Linked DNA regions of Homo sapiens: region 1 is linked to region 2. The links are contacts of gene promoters, found by promoter capture Hi-C in human tissues and cell types (Jung and others, 2019). All regions are on one chromosome and are shown on one strand. The core of a region is centred on a gene start or on the middle of the fragment in contact, and the rest is flanking DNA. Distances in the headings are between cores, read along the strand shown. Region 1 has its middle 52 kb from the start of CLN8. Region 2 holds the start of KBTBD11 (kelch repeat and BTB domain containing 11).

Region 1 (5,670 bases), core at 1,955-4,454, 260 kb after region 2:
GAGTTTCTTAATCCTGAGTTCTAATTTGATTGCATTGTGGTCAGAGAGGCCGTTTGTTATGACTTCCATCCTTTTGCATTTGCTGAGGAGTGTTTTACTTCCAATTATGTGGTTAATTTTAGAATAAGCATAATGAGATGCTGACAAGAATGTGTATTCTATTGATTTGGGGTGGAGAGTTCTGTAGATGTCTATTAGGTCTGCTTGGTCCAGATCTGAGTTCAGGTCCTGAATATCCTAGTTAATTTTCCGTCTCATTGATCTGTCTGATATTGACAGTGGAGTGTTAGACTCCCACACAATAATATGGGAGATTTTAAGTCTCTTTGTAGGTCTCTAAGAACTTGCTTTATGAATCTGCGTGCTCCTGTATTGGGTGCTTATATATTTAGGATAGTTAGCTCTTGGTGAATTGATCCCTTTACCATTATGTAATACCTTTCTTTGTCTCTTTTCATCTCTGTTGGTTTAAAGTCTGTTTTATCAGAGACTAGGATTGCAACCCCTGCCTTTTTTTGCTTTCCATTTTCTTCGTTAATATTCCTCCATCTGTTTATTTTGAGCCTATGTGTGTCTTTGCACATGAGATGGGTCTCCTGAATACAGCACACTGATGGGTCTTGACTCTTTATCCAATTTGCCAGTCTGTGTCTTTTAATTGGGGCATTCAGTCCATTTACGTTTAAGGTTAATATTGTTATGTGTGAATTTGATCCTGTCATTATGATGCTAGCTGGTTATTTTGCTCATTAGTTTATGCAGTTTCTTTGTAGTGTTGATGGTCTTTACAATTTTTTTTTTTTTTTTGAGATGGAGTCTTGCTCTGTTGCCCAGGCTGGAGTGCAGTGCTGCAGTCTCGGCTCACTGAAAGCTCCACCTCCTGGGTTCACGCCATTGTCCTGCCTGACCCTACCAAGAAGCTGGGACTACAGACGCCTGCCACCATGCCCGGTTAATTTTTTTGTATTTTTAGTAGAGATGGGGTTTCACTGTGTTAGCCAGGTTGGTCTCGATCTCCTGACCTCGTGTTCTGCCTGTCTCAGCCTTCCAAAGTGCTGGCATTACAGGTGTCAGCCACTGCACCTGGCCACAATTTGGTATGTTTCTGCAATGGCTGGTACTGGTGGTTCCTTTCCATGTTTAGTGCTTCCTTCAGGAGCTCTTGTAAGGCAGGCCTGGTGATGACAATATCTCTCAGCATTTGCTTGTCTGTAAAGGATTTTATTCATCCTTTGCTTATGAAACTTAGTTTGGCTGGATATGAAATTCTGGTTGAAAATTCTTTTCTTTAAGAATGTTGAACATTGGCCCCACTCTCTTCTGGCTTGTAGGGTTTCTGCAGAGAGATCCACTGTTAATCTGATGGGCTTCCCTTTGTGGGTAGTCTGACCTTTCTCTCTGGCTGCCCTTAAGATTTTTTTCCTTCATTTCAACCTTGGTGAATCTGATGTTAATGTGTCTTGGGGTTGCTCTTCTCCAGGAGTATCTTTGTCGTGTTCTCTGTATTTCCTGAATTTGAATGTTGGCCTGTCTTGCTAGTTTGGGGAAGTTCTCCTGGATAATATCCTGAAGAGTATTTCCCAACTTGGTTCCATTCTCCCCGTCACTTTCAGGTACACTAATCGAACTTAGATTTGGTCTTTTCACGTAGTCCCATATTTCCTGGAGGCTTTGTTTGTTCCTTTTCATTCTTTTTTCTGTGATCTTGTCTTCTCACTTTATTTCATTTCGTTGATCTTTAATCTCTGATATCCTCTCTTCCATTTGATCGATTCGGCTATTGATACTTGTATATGCTTCACGAAGTTCTCATGCTGTGGTCTTCAGCTTCATCAGGTCATTTATGTTCTTCTCCACACTGGTTATTCTAGTTAGCAATTCCTCTAACCTTTTTTCCAGGTTCATAGCTTCCTTGCTTTGGGTTAGAACATGCTCCTTTAGCTCAGAGGAGTTTGTTACCCACCTTCTGAAGCCTACTTCTGTCAATTCATCAAACTTATTCTCTGTCCAGTTTTGTTCCCTTGCTGGCGAGGAGTTGTGATCCTTTGGAGAAGAAGAGGCGTTATGGCTTTTGGAATTTTCAGCCTTTTTGCGCCAGTTCCTTCCATCTTCATGGATTTCTCTACCTTTGGTCTTTGATGCTGTTGACCTTCAGATGGGGTTCTGGTGTGGATGTCCTTTTTGTTGATGTTGATGCTATTGCTTTCTGTTTGTTAGTTTTCCTTCTAACCATCAGGCCCCTCTGCTGCAGGTCTGCTGGAGTTTGCTGGAGGTCCACTCCAGACCCTGTTTGCCTGAGTATCGCCAGCGGAGGCTGCAGAACAGCAAAGATTGCTGCCTGTTCCTTCCTTTGGAATCTTCATCCCAGAGGAGCACCCACCAGATGCCAGCCAGAGCTCTCCTGTATGAGGTGTCTGTTGTCCCCTACTGGGAGGTTTCTCCCAGTCAGGATACACCAGGGTCAGGGACCCAGTTGAGGAGGCAGTCTGACCCTTAGCAGAGACTTGAGTGCTGTGCTGGGAGATCTGCTGTTGTCTTCACAGCCGTCAGGCATGAGCGTTTAATTCTGCTGAAGCTGCACCCACAGCCGCCCCTTTCCCTGGGTGCTCTGTCCCAGTTAGATGGGGGTTTTATCTACAAGCCCCTGACTGGGGCTGCTGCCTGTTTTTCAGAGATGCCCTGCCCAGAGAGGCGGAGTCTAGAGAGGCAGTCTGGCCACAGTGGCCTTGCTGAGCTGCGGTGGGATTGCCCAGTTCGAACTTCCCAGAGGCTTTGTTTACACGGTGAGGGTAAAACTGCCTACTCAAGCCTCGCAGTGGTGGGCACCCCTGCCCGCACCAAGCTTGAGCATTTCAGGTTGATTTCAGGTTGATTTCTGTGCTGGCAGCAAGAATTTCAAGCCAGTGGATCTTAGCTTGCTGGGCTCCTTGGGGGTGGGACCCACCGAGCCAGACCACTTGGCTCCCTGGCTGCAGCCCCTTTTCCAGGAGAGTGAACGGTTAGCGGCTTATCAATTTTATTGATCTTTTCAAAGCGCTGGCTTTTGATTACATTATTTTTCTCTGTTTCCTATTTTCAATTGTATTGATTTCTGCTCTAATTTTTATTATTTCATTTCCTGTGCTTACTTTGGATTTGACTGCCTCCTAAGATGGATATCTAAATGATTGCTTTTGGATCATTCTTTTCTAATACAGGCATTGAATGCTATGCATTTCTTCCAGGCACTGCTTTTGCTGCATCTCACAAATTTACATATATTGTGTTGTTATTTTCATTTAGTTTAAATATTTTTAAATTTCTTTTGAGACTTCTTTGTAGATCCATGTGGTATTAGAAGTGCATTGCTTAATCTCCATGTGTTTGGGGATTTTCCAGCTATCTTTCTGTTACTGATTTCTAGTTTAACTCCGTTGTGGAATTGAGAGTTCATACATTGTATGACTCTATTCTTTTACATCTGTTAGCGTGTGTTTCATAGCCCAGAGTGTAGCTTGGGAAGCATGTGTGTTCTGCTGTAGTTGGATGAAGTAGGGTGTTAGGTGTTCATTACAGCTAGGTAACCAGTGGTGCTTCTTTTACATCTGTTAGCGTGTGTTTCATAGCCCAGAGTGTAGCTTGGGAAGCATGTGTGTTCTGCTGTAGTTGGATGAAGTAGGGTGTTAGGTGTTCATTATAGCTAGGTAACCAGTGGTGCTTCTTTTACATTTTTAAAGTGTGTTTCATAGCCCAGAGTGTAGCTTGGGAAGCATGTGTGTTCTGCTGCAGTTGGACGAAGTAGGGTGTTAGGTGTGCATTATAGCTAGGTAACCAGTGGTGCTTCTTTTACATCTGTTAAGGTGTGTTTCATAGCCCAGAGTGTAGCTTGGGAAGCCTGTGTGTTCTGCTGCAGTTGGACGAAGTAGGGTGTTAGGTGTGCATTATAGCTAGGTAACCAGTGGTGCTTCTTTTACATTTTTAAAGTGTGTTTCATAGCCCAGAGTGTAGCTTGGGAAGCATGTGTGTTCTGCTGTAGTTGGATGAAGTAGGGTGTTAGGTGTTCATTATAGCTAGGTAACCAGTGGTGCTTCTTTTACATTTTTAAAGTGTGTTTCATAGCCCAGAGTGTAGCTTGGGAAGCATGTGTGTTCTGCTGCAGTTGGACGAAGTAGGGTGTTAGGTGTGCATTATAGCTAGGTAACCAGTGGTGCTTCTTTTACATCTGTTAAGGTGTGTTTCATAGCCCAGAGTGTAGCTTGGGAAGCCTGTGTGTTCTGCTGCAGTTGGACGAAGTAGGGTGTTAGGTGTGCATTATAGCTAGGTAACCAGTGGTGCTGTTGAGGTCAGCTATGTCCTTGCTGATTTTCTGCTGGCTGGATCTGTCAGTTACTGGTAGACAGGTGCTGAGCTCTCTAACCGCCACAGTGGATTTCTCTTTCTTTGTAGTTCTGCTGGTTTTCGTGTCACTTGACACTGTTTTTAGGCACAGGCACATTGAGCATTGTCATGCCTTTGTGGAGAACTGGCCTCTTTATCATTATGTCATGTCCTTCTGTGTCCTGGAGGAGATTTCTTGTCTGAAGGGTGCCCTGTCTGGTGTTAATGCAGTGACTGCAGCTTTCTTTGGATTAGTGTTAGCATGGTTTACACTGCTCTATGGTGTTACTTTTAATCAGTGTCTTTATATTTAAAGCGCTTTTCTGGTAACAGCATGCTGTTGGGTCTCTTTTTTAAAAAGTCCTGTGCTCAAGCGATCCTCTCACCTTGGCATCCCAAAGTGCTGGGATTACAGGTGCGAGCCACCATACCCGGCCTCCCTCTTTTTTAATACAAAAGTGCTATTGATGGAATGGTAAGGTGTAGGGGGGAGGGGAAGCTTTCTCTTATCCTATGATTGGGTCTCAGTCTTTCAGTGAGCCTGTGCCCTGAGGTCTGATCTTTGTAAATCCTTCCCAGTCCCCCCTCCCCACCCCTGCCTTAGGATGGCTACAGGGGGCTGGCATAGGGTCTTTCCCTTCCCCTAGATATGTCAGACTCTGGCAAACCCCAAGTCTGTCTGTTAGGCTTTGGTAGGATACTTTTACTTGAGGGCCTTTTTTTAAGGTGAACAGATGCTCTGGGCATATTTCAGAATGGCTACTTTCCCCCCACCTGCTGGAAACACAAGGGCATTTTTCTCTGATCTATACCCTGAGAACCTGGCGGGGGGGGCGGGGGGGTTCCTGGGGGTAAAGCTCACAAGGTGTTGGGGGCGTCCTAAGACTGGGCCCCCTAGAGTTTTCAGTCCTCAGGTTTGTCCACGTTGAGCTTCTGGGTTTGTCAGCCACGGGTCAGGCTTCCCCAGCCCAGCACAGGTCCCCACAGAGGTTTCCGTACCTGGGCATCTGCTCAGTGGGTTGTGAGTCTCTGTGTCAGCCTCTCTCATTCTGGGGGAGCTGTTTGCCCTGTGACATTCATTTTGATAAGAATCTACAAAGAATTGCTGCTTTTCAGCTTGTTCCACTTTTTCTTGTTGTGAGGACAGAATGCTGTATGAGAAACCAGAAATTCTCATGCACTGGTCTCTTGGTTTTTAATTAAAAGATTCTATAAATTATCTTGTTATAATTTAAAATGAATTCCACAGTAATTTATTTGTACTTTTACTGACTTCTGGGAAAATAATGTTTGACTACATGAGGATGAAGGTAT
Region 2 (5,567 bases), core at 262-2,761:
GCAATGCCAGTTACCATAAATCTGCACACACGAGGTTGTTGCTGGAGCAAATCTGAAGGCAATGGAACGCTCCCTTCCGTGATGTCAGGAATGGGGAGGATTATTCTAATAATAGCACACTATTAGCTCAGGATAAAAGGCTGAAGGGTTCCATTGACATCCATTAAGGGGTCCTAATTGGAGCCTGAGTAACTGCTCCTTAGTGGGAAATGGAGGCGGGAACCGCGGGGAATCGGGCGAACTTCTCACTCAGGGCCTGAGGGGATGGCTGGAACTTTAAAATCTGACGGCGGCGCCTTTCGTGGGCTGAGTAGAATAAAGCTCGCTGCACTGATTTGTTCCTTTTCTTTTCCTTAGAATAGACACTGGAGTGGGTGGAGGGGGAAACGTGGTTTTGTAGGACTCTAAAGAGGTGGAGGGACTTTGGTTCACCCTCTTTTCATGCTCCAGAATGAGCCCCGCCTGAGAGGAGGGACCCCTGCGGAATCCCGCCCAGACCGCCCGGGGGTCTCCCCAGCACATGGGGCGGGGGCTGCAAGGGGCGCCCGGCAGGACTCGGGAGCCGCGGCGCGGTGGGGCGGGTGGGTCGCGGTGCTCGGGGCTCGCGGGGGTCAGCAGCCAGGACACCCCCGCACCCCGGGCGCAGCGGCGGAGGACCAAGGGCCGCGCTCCCCTCCCCAGGGCCCCGAGTCCAGGAGAGACCCCCGTTCGCTCCGGACAGCCGATCCCCGCGACCGCCGAGAGCCAAGCGGAGCAACCCCGGGAGGAGCCCCCGCCCTGGCCCCGCGCGCTTGGCTTCGGCTTCTGCTCCTGCTTCCGTGCCGGCTGGGGCGGCGGGACCCTCGGCGGGGGCGGTGACTGCGGGCGCGGCGCGGGCGGCTCATTGTCTTCCGGCCGGGGTTGCCGCGTCCCGGGGGAGGGCCTGTGGAGACCCCGCGAGGAGGCCCCCACGCCCCCCACGCGGCCTCCCGGAGGCGGAGCGGAGACCACCCACCGCCGCCCACCCCGCCGCGGGCAGCGCTGCCCCCTCCTCTCCCGGTCCCCCCTCCCCTCCCCTCCGCTCCGCTCCCCTCCCTCCCCTGCCGGCCTCCCCTCCCCGCCTCTCCCCTGCCGGCCTCCCCTTTTCTCCCCTCCCGCCTACTGCCGCTCTCGCCGACCACCTCCCACCCGCCGCCCCCTCCGACCCGCGCCTCGGGCTGCTTCCCGCTCCGCCCGCCAGGCCCCGCCGCTGCCTCCCCGGGGTCCGCCCTACCTCGCCGCGGCTCCTCTTCAGCCGCCGGGCCCGGGACGCGCAGCCAGGCGGGTGGGCTCCGGCGCATGCGCGCGGCCGCTTCCCGGCACCTGTGGGAGCCGCGGCCCGGCCTCTCCGAGCACCTGCGAGCGGGAGCTGCTCCTCCGACCCGCAGCGGGGCGTGGGCGGCAGAGGGGGCGGTGGACAGGCCTCTCCGCCTCTCCAGGCCGCGCGGAGCCAGCGCTCCGGCTCCAGGCTGCGAGGGGCGCGCGCGGGGCGCGGGGAGGGGGGCGGGCGCGTGCACACGGGGCGTTTTCGGGCGCGCGCCCCCTGGCTGGGTCTGCGGAGGGGCTGTGGGTTCCCCGGGGCTTCCCTGCCCCGCGCCTGCCCGCCGGGCGCTTCTCCCCCTCCAGGACCGCGGCCCACGTCGCCACTCGAGCCCGAGCCCGAGCCCGCGCCCACGCGCGGGGGCCGCTTCCTGCGAGGAGGCGGGGACAGGTGTCCGCGGGCGCAAACAGCGGAGTTTCGTGCGCCTATTTTTTGGTAAAAGTAGAGGCGATGCGTTGTTGACATATTTAGTGGTTAAAAACTTATTGCCAAATTCTCAACAGATTCCAGAATTTTTTAAAGTTCACAACACGAGAGTGGACGAAATGTCGGAGCTTTTGCTCATATCCAGAAATGTGGCCTCTGCCTCCCACTCGGGCCCTGCGGTGCAGACGGGTTCAGGGCGGCGAGGACTGAGCCAGGAGCGCCGAGAGTTCCAGCTGCTCCCAGGCTGGGTTCTAATTAACGCTGGACCCCTGCTGGTAAATGCTATTTTTAATGGCTTTGTGCAAATTAATGACGATGAGATTTCCATAAGTACCGAGAGCCAGAGCCTTTACTTTCTCTTTTTGTGTTCTTTTTGCTTGTGACAGTCTTTGCCAGTTCCATGCTGTATACACATAATGAGCCGTTACAACTCCAGCACCAAAGCTAACGCCCCGGGAACATCTTTAAAACCTTTTTCACTCTGTTGCCAAGAAGAGTAGTACCTGCTGTCAGTACTTGAATTACAGGAGGCTGAAACTCAGCGAGCTACTGGGATTTTTTGAAAATTGAAAACTTCCGTTAACTATAGCAGAAACAGACCCTTTTGGTGGAAGCTAAAATAATTCCCATGCTGCTCCGTTTTTATTTTGTTCAGTTTACTCCAAAAATGTTCCAAACTCTACTGTGATCTTCTTAGTGCATCTCTACTTCCTTTCGGCTGCAGAATAATACTTCTTTTTCTCTTTTGTTTTTTTTTAGAGATGGAGTCTCACTCTGTCGCCCAGGCTGGAATGCAGTGGTGCAATCTCGGCTCACTGCGATCTCTGCGTCCTGGGTTCAAGCAATTCTCCTGCCTCAGCCTCCCAAGTAGCTGTGACTACAGGCATGCACCACCACACCCAGCTAAATTTTGTATTTTTAGTAGAGACAGGGTTTCACTGTACATTGGCCAGGCTGGTCTCGATCTCCTGACCTCAAGTGATCCACCTGTCTTGGCCTCCCAAAGTGCTGGGATTACAGGCATGAGCCACCGCGCCTGGCCTAACTACCCCCATTCTTTTCCAGAGAAACGTGAACAGGCCAAACAAAGCCTCACCTGGCTATCCCGCCACCCTGGGGTTGGGCCTCCAAAGGCCCGGGAGGTCACCTAAGACACGGTGTTCTGAACATGCAAGCCCGACAGCATCTTCTCTACCATTCTGCCAGAGTCCAGAGACCTGGGAATAGGTCATACCCCCCACTGCATTTTACAAGCTTGGCATACATTAGGTTCTCAATAAATACTGAATTAATGAAAAAATTGCTGAAGTAACTGAAAACATCCATCCAAACCCCACACCATCTGGTAGATAAGTAGTCTGTGGGGAGTCCCATATTTTTCTTACCTTAGATATTTATTTGGAAATGGACTGTAGGCCCAATATGGTCAATGAAACTTGCAGAGGAACATTTCATGCCTTTAATTAGTTCTTCATAACTGCAGGGACCTCTAGAGTTCCTGAAATTGAACTGGGTTGTAATACTGTCAAGAAAAAGGAGGACCTATCTTAAATCTATTTCAAGGGTAATACTATTTTACTATGTAAATTTTCCCCTGGTCAGGGACAGCCTGATCATGCATGGTAGACTCGAAGCATGCAAATATTTCAACATGCAAAACCGCCCTAAAAATATAACCGAAGCTTATGGAGTTGTCCAGGGTACAGTGGTTTACTGGCCCCTGAATGCGGGACTCCATCAAACTGGGTTCCAGGCTGGGAGGTCTCTGAACCCAATTTCTAGACAGCCTGCTTTGGAGTTCAACTGATGGGACCTTAGACACCAGCCTTACCCTCTGCAAGTCTTGTGATTTGGAGCCAGATACTTGGCCTCTCTGTGCTCCAGGGAGACACCACTGCACCTACCTGAGAGGACTGAAGGAGAGGATCTGTGCAACTCACTCAGGATACTGGATCTTAAGCCAATGGGTGGACTTACATTCGTCACCTCTGATTCTGTCTCCTCCTGCGCGGTGACTTAGCAAACACTTCTTCCTCTCCAGCTCTGCTTCTTACTCTCCAGCTCTGCTGCCCTGTTCCAGTGCTGACGCCAGACAACAGATAATTTCCCAAATGCTTGTATTAGCCCTTAGGAGTTCATGTGTTCCTCCCCCAGCCAATAAAGCTGTTAAATCCCAATAACTGTCAGGAATGGAGCCAATTGCTATAAAGTACTTCCAGCTTCTTGGCATGAAGAAATAATTAGAATATATGTGTTGGCTTTGAAACAACACTCACTGGTTCATTAAAAAATTCTGTGCATATTGTACAAAAGTAGTCTTGGCCTTGGCACTCCCTTAGGTGAACCTTACCCGGCCCTGGCACTCCCTTAGGTGAACCTTACCCGGCCCTGGCACTCCCTTAGGTGAACCTTACCTACTTCAGTGCTTCCTCAGCTCTGATGAACTGTGTGCAATTGCGTTTTTGTCGCAAGCTGCTGCTTAAATACTGTGAAGCTCTTTCCTTATGTCAGTCTCTCCACCTATGTTACCAGCCAGCGCCTGAGACCCTCATATTAAGGAAACAGTGTGTTCCTAAGTCCTCTTTGATATTGTCCACTATTGACTATCGATAGCAAACATGCATTGGCCATGTGCTAAGCATGTCATTCCCCAAATTTTATTTTTTTGAGACAGTTTCGCTCTTGTTGCCCAGTGTGAAGTGGAATGGTGTGATCTCAGCGTACTACAACCTCCACCTTCCGGGTTCACGTGATTCTCCTGCCTCAGACTCCCGAGTAGTTGGGATTACAGGTGTGTGCCACCACGCCCGGCTAATTTTTTTTATTTTTAATAGAGATGGGGTTTCACCACGTTGGTCAGTCTGGTCTCAAACTCCTGACCTGAGGTGATCCACCCACCTCGGCCTCCCAAAGCGCTGGGATTACAGGCGTGAGCCACCGTGCCTGGACCCCAAATTTTAAATTACAGACAGTCCCAGGTTTAAGATGATACCCTAATTGTCCTGATTCGAATAGGGAAACGGAGGCCATGCTTTTTAGTTTTGTACCCCTGGGCCCAGCAATGTGAGGGCATGAAGCCAAGCTCGGTAATTGTTGACTAAATGAAGGAGTGAGGCCTGTTGAGCCCAAATGCCCATTGCTCATCATCCCTGACAGGCTCTCCCAGGGGCTGCAGGGGCCTGGGCACGTGGTTCCCTCAAGCAGATTGCAGGTTACCCACAGGCAACACGCTCTGCCAGTGAATTAACGCTGCTGTCTCCACATGGCCAGTACGTTTATTAGGGGGAATCCTAGTAACCATTTTTCAGAAAAATAAAGGAAATAAGATGGCAACCATTACTTTAAAATAGTTTCAAGGCATATATTAATAATGTTAGAGCAAGTTAGCTGCAATTTAAAATATTTTGAGGGTCGGGGGCAGTGACTCACATCTGTGGTCCCAGCACTTTGGGAGGCTGAGGCGGGCAGATTGCCTGAGCCTAGGAGTTGGAGACCAGCCTGGGCAACATGGAGAAACCCTGTCTCCACAAAAATACAAAACATTAGCCGGGCGTGCTGGCGTGCACCTGTAGTCCCAGCTACTCAGGAGGCCGAAGTGAGAGGATTGCTTGAGCCTGGGAGGTTGAGGCTGCTCTGAGCCATGATTGCGCCACTGCACTCCAGCTGGAGCAACACAGTGAGACCCTGTCTCAAATATATATATTTATGTATTTTAAATATAAATTTTATGTTATATTTATATTTATATATTTATATATATTTATATAGATTTATAGATTTATAGATTTATAGATTTTATTAT

What was found. The method cuts DNA at HindIII sites, captures the fragments that hold promoters and counts their contacts. A contact is called where the count stands out against the background at its distance.
Region 1: a contact is called between a fragment that was not itself captured here and the fragment with the promoter of KBTBD11 in region 2, in 1 of the 25 tissues and cell types used here (heart left ventricle).

Annotation. Positions count from the first base shown.
Region 1 is chr8:1,709,357-1,715,026 of GRCh38, reverse strand. No RefSeq gene overlaps it. Among named protein-coding and RNA genes, the nearest start is that of CLN8, 52 kb to the left of the region's middle. The HindIII fragment of the contact is 7,164 bases long and covers 1-5,670 here.
Region 2 is chr8:1,969,621-1,975,187 of GRCh38, reverse strand. KBTBD11 (kelch repeat and BTB domain containing 11) reads right to left here and starts at 1,511. Exons shown (of 2, transcript NM_014867.3): 1 at 1,253-1,511. It overlaps KBTBD11-AS1 (KBTBD11 antisense RNA 1), which reads left to right and starts at 1,843. Exons shown (of 3, transcript NR_136275.1): 1 at 1,843-2,040; 2 at 2,525-2,648; 3 at 2,831-4,009. KBTBD11-OT1 (KBTBD11 overlapping transcript 1) reads right to left here and starts at 3,791. Exons shown (of 3, transcript NR_126346.1): 1 at 3,670-3,791; 2 at 3,151-3,263. The HindIII fragment of the contact is 1,977 bases long and covers 1,257-3,233 here.